2 separate regions of the Homo sapiens genome follow, and region 1 is linked to region 2. Evidence: promoter capture Hi-C in human tissues and cell types (Jung and others, 2019). All regions are on one chromosome and are shown on one strand. The core of a region is centred on a gene start or on the middle of the fragment in contact, and the rest is flanking DNA. Distances in the headings are between cores, read along the strand shown.

Region 1 (2,700 bases), core at 176-2,675, 45 kb before region 2:
TTAAAAGACACAGACCAGCAAATTGGATAAAGAGTCAAGACCCATCAGTGTGCTGCATTCAGAAGACCGATCTCACATCCAGAGACACACATAGGCTCAAAATAAAGGGATGGAGGAAGATCTACCAAGCAAATGGAAAACAAAAAAAAGCAGGGGTTGCAATCCTAGTCTCTGATAAAACAGACTTTAAACCAGCAAAGATCAAAAAAGACAAAGAAGGCCATTACACAATGGTAAAGGGATCAATGCAACAAGAAGGTTAACTATCCTAAATATATATGCACCCAATACAGGAGCACCCGGATTCATAAAGCAAGTCACCAGAGACCTACAAAGAGACTTAGACTCCCACACAATAATAATGGGAGACTTTAACACCCCATGGTCAACATCAGACAGATGAACGAGACAGAAGGTTAACAACGATATCCAAGAGTTGAACTCAGCTCTGCACCAAGCTGACCTAATAGACATCTACAAAACTCTCAACACCAAGTCAATAAAATATACATTCCTCTGAGCACAACATCACACTTATTCTAAAATTGACAACATAATTGGAAGTAAAGCACTCCTCAACAAATGTAAAAGAACAGAAATCACAGTAAACTGTCTCTTAGACCACAGTGCAATCAAATAAGAACTCAGGATTAAGAAACTCACTCAAAACTGCACAACTACATGGAAACTGAACAACCTGCTCCTGAATGACCACTAGGTAAATAATGAAATGAAGGCAGAAATAAAGATGTTCTTTGAAACCAATGAGAACAAAGACACAACATAACAGAATCTCTGGGACACATTTAAAGCAGTGGGTAGAGGGAAATGTATAGCACTAAATGCCCACAAGAGAAAGCAGGAAAGATCTAAAATTGACACCCTAACATCACAATTAAAAGAAATAGAGAGGCAAGAGCAAACACATTCAAAAGCTAACAGAAGACAAGAAATAACTAAGATCAGAGCAGAACTGAAGGAGATAGAGATGCAAAAAACCCTTCAAAAAATCATTGAATCCAGGAGGTGGTTTTTTGAAAAGATCAACAAAATTGATAGACTATTAGCAAGACTAATAAAGAAGAAGAGGGAAGAATCAAATAGATGCAATAAAAAATGATAACGGGGATATCACCACTTATCCCACAGACATACAAACTACCATCAGAGAATATTATAAACACCTCTATGCAAATAAACTAGAAAATCTAGAAGAAATGGATAAATTCCTGGACACATAAACCCTCCCAAGACTAAACCAGGAATAAGTTGAATCTCTGAATAGACCAATAACAGGTTCTGAAATTGAGGAAATAATTAATAGGCTACCAACAAAAAAAGTCCAGGACCAGATGGATTCACAGCTGAATTCTACCAGAGGTACAAAGAGGAGGTGGTAACATTTCTTCTGATACTATTCCAATCAATAAAAAAAGACAGAATCCTCCCTAACTCATTTTATGAGGCCAGCATCATCCCGATACCAAAGCTTGGCAGAAACACAACAAAAGAGAATTTTAGACCAATATCCCTGATGAACATTGATGCAAAATTCCTCAATAAAATACTGGCAAACCAAATCCAGCAGCAAATCAAAATGTTTATCCTTGACAATCAAGTTAGCTTCATCCCTGGAATGCAAGGCTGGTTCAACATATGCAAATCAATAAACGTCATCCATCATATAAACAGAACCAACGACAAAAACCACATGATTGTCTCAATAGATGCAGAAAAGGCCTTTGACAAAATTCAACAGCCCTTCATGCAAAAACTCTCAATCACCTAGGTATTCAAGGAATGTTTCTCAAAATAATAAGAGCTGTTTATGACAGAACCACAGCCAATATCATACTGAATGGGCAAAAACTGGAAGCATTCCCTTTGAAAACTGGCACAGGACAGGGATGTCCTCTCTCACCATTCCTATTCATCTTAGTGTTGAAAGTTCTGGGCAATCAGGCAAGAGAAAGAAATAAGGCGTATTCAATTAGGAAAACAGGAAGTCAAATTGTCCCTGTTTGCAGATGACATGATTGTATATTTAGAAAACCTCATCATCTCAGCCCCATGTCTCCTTAAGGTGATAAGCAACTTCAGCAAAGTCTCAGGATACAAAATTTTTCAATGTAAAAAATCACAAGCATTCCTATACACAAATAACAGACAAACAGAGAGCCAAATCATGAGTGAACTCCCATTCACAATTGCTGCAAAGAGAATAAAATACCTAGGAATACAAATTCCAAGGAATGTGAAGGACCTCTTCAAGGAGAGCTACAAACCACTGCTCAATGAAATAAAAGAGGACACAAACAAATGGAAGTACATTCCATGCTCCTGGATGGGAAGAATCAATATTGTGAAAATGGCCATACTGCCCAAGGTAATTTATAGATTCAATGGCATCCCCATCAAGCTACCTCTGACTTTCTTCACAGAATTGGAAAAAAACTACTTTAAAGTTCATATGGAACCAAAAAAGAGCCCTCATTGCCAAGACAATCCTAACCAAAAAGAACAAAGCTGAAGGCATCACACTACCTGACTTCAGACTATACTACAAGGCTACAATAACCAAAACAGCATGGTACTCATACCAAAACAGAGATATAGACCAATGGAACAGAACAGTGGCCTCAGAAATAACACCACACATCTACAATCATCTGATATTTGACAGACCTGACAAAAACAAGA
Region 2 (2,743 bases), core at 118-2,617:
ATACAGCCAACCAAGCATGGCTACTAAAGAATAAAATTAACACTGAGTTATAAACAAGTGGCAATGTTGAAATCCATGGTTCTATGGTTAGGAGAACAATTACAAAACTTACAATTGAAAGAGCAATTGTGCTATCATTTAAATCACACTCATATATGTGTAACCAACGTAGAATATAACCAAAGCGAGTATCCATGGGACCTTGTGAAAGCCCATTTGCGGGGAGCTTTCACACCCAACATCACCTTTGATACTGGTGAATTACAAAACAAAATTCTTGATTTAAATAAGCAAACTCAAGAGTTTCAGCCTTCTTTAGAAGACTGGACCGAATTCCAGCAAGGCCTGGAGAGCCTCAATCCTTGGACCTATCTAAAGCACCACACAAACATCTCATATGTAGTTTTTGGAGTAATGCTGTTCTGTCTCTGTTTTCTGTTCATAGTCTGTAAAATCCGACGGACCAATCACAAAATGAGAGCTGCCCAACCTGGCCTTACGTTTATTTGATTAATGCATAAACAGGAAGGGGGAAATGTTGGGAGCTGAATGCCTGAGTGTTGTGACCAACTCAGCATTCCACTGGAGGCTATATGATCAAACAGCAAACTGTTTATCATGAGTGCAGAATGTGGGCAAACTTGCTTCTGCTCCTGCCACCAGAAGGTATACTGAGGACAGTCACTCCCTGGTGCCATGCTCCTTGGAGTTATCTACTGGAACATCTGGAGAGTACTGTTCAAAGAATACAGTCATGCAGGCCTGCATTAAGTCAAGCAGCTGACCACAACCTCCCCCTTCTCCCTATCTCCTTTACTCAATAAATACAAAGGGCTATAGAAGCTCAGGACCCTTGTTCACCAGAAGCAAGGAGTCCACGACCCCTTCTTCCAAATATACTCTTTTGTCTTTGTCTGTATTCTCGCATTCATCCTCCTTTGTTCAGTCCAATAAGGTCTGCAGCAAAATGAAACCTGTAGTATATACTAGGAATTGCGTATTAAAGTTATTCTCACCCAGGAAGACCAGGTTTCTGTAGTTCTCTAACATCACATTCCTATATAAATTCTGCTGTGTAGAATCCAGGCATTGCCACTCCTCCAGAGAGAATTCTATGGCCACATCCCTAAATGTCAATGCTCCCTGGAAAACACACACAAACACATATATTTACCAATTGGTCATGGGCAGAACTTTTAATGTGACTCAAGGTAAAATGGAGAGAGTAGAGAGAGCTGGTTCTGACTTATATGAATGACTGAAATTATTCAATAAAATAGTTTTCAACACAGAAATGTTCACTAATGTATTCTCTAACTCTGAGAAAAGAAAGTGGTATAAGATCCATAACATCTGTGTATATGTAATATTTTTCTAGATAATAAAGTATAAAATTGAGGGCAAAAACACTAACATGTACAATTTTGAGTGCTATATTTACATCATACAGAATTGTGTGCCAGGCATGGTGGCTCATGCCTGTAATCCCAGCACTTTGGGAGGCTGAGGTGGGCAGATCACCTGAGGTTGGGAGTTCGAGACCAGCCTGACCAACATGGTGAAACCCCGTCTCTACTAAAAACACAAAATTAGCCATGCATGGTGGCACATGGCTGTAATCCTAGCTACTCGGGAGGCTGAGGCAGGAGAATTGCTTGAACCCAGGAGGCGGAGGCTGCAGTGAGCCAAGATTCATTGCACTCTAGCTTGGGCAACAAGAGTGAAACTCCATCTCAAAAAAAAAAAAAAAAATTCATCGTGTGTATTTTTCAGATGGAAAAGACATAGTTTTGCATATTATTCAGATGGAATAGACATGTTGAGTTAGAAGGTATGACTCAAATTTTAATGTGTGCAATAAGCTAGAGATCCTGTTAATGCAATTTTTTTTTTTTCAGATCTGGGATAAAGTCTGAGTTGCTGAATTTCTAATAAGCTCATCAGTATGCCAATGTTTTTGGCCCAAAAAGACTATTTTTTAAAACATCCAGTAATAGAATGAGCCTGTGTTTTTCTGTTTTTCTGGTTTGTAAACAAAGATAAGAGCCTTCATTTTCCAAAAACAGACAAATGCAAAGGAAACCTAAGAAAGAAGGGCAGCTGTCAGATTAAATGTTTTGGTTTATTCACATCAGCTGCATAAAGATATTTAATGATGAAGAGGAAAATGATTAATTCCATAGTAAAAAAATGTGTCAGAGAGCTTATCAACCAAGTGATTTATTAACATCAATTACACTAGAACACATTTTTTTAATGTCCTGATGTACCCAGAAGGACACAGTATTACTGCTGAGATATTGCCCCCCCTCTGAAAGGTAAATTATAGTCTGAATTTAACCATAAGGAAACATTAGTTTTATGGAAAGTTCAAGATAGAGATATCTCCCATGTTCTGTAACTTTTAGTAGTGATTTTAAATAGTATTTCTTCAGCACTGAGAGAGCAGGTATCTCCTAACAATTTTTTTTAGAATTTTCTGGGTAATAAATACCACACTGCTTCAATGAGTGTTTTCTTAATCTTGTACTGCATAGACATAATAAAGAACACAGATGAAACCACAACATTACATGTTCTCTGTCTTCACTAAAAACCCCAGGTTTTCCCCAATATGAATTTTGAGTATCTACACTTTCCCATGTTCAACAGCCACAAAGGGACATTTTTAATATTGCAGATTATAAATTCATAGTGAGATTTCTGCATGGCATATAAGAAGCCATAATATAGAGAAAGCTCT

Evidence for each region. The method cuts DNA at HindIII sites, captures the fragments that hold promoters and counts their contacts. A contact is called where the count stands out against the background at its distance.
Region 1: a fragment that was not itself captured here is called in contact with the fragment with the promoter of ZNF676 in region 2 in 1 of the 25 tissues and cell types used here (mesendoderm cells).

Annotation. Positions count from the first base shown.
Region 1 is chr19:22,150,555-22,153,254 of GRCh38, forward strand. No RefSeq gene overlaps it. Among named protein-coding and RNA genes, the nearest start is that of ZNF676, 45 kb to the right of the region's middle. The HindIII fragment of the contact is 5,978 bases long and covers 1-2,700 here.
Region 2 is chr19:22,195,584-22,198,326 of GRCh38, forward strand. ZNF676 (zinc finger protein 676) reads right to left here and starts at 1,368. Exons shown (of 3, transcript NM_001001411.3): 1 at 1,017-1,368. The coding sequence starts at 1,050. The HindIII fragment of the contact is 8,211 bases long and covers 1-2,743 here.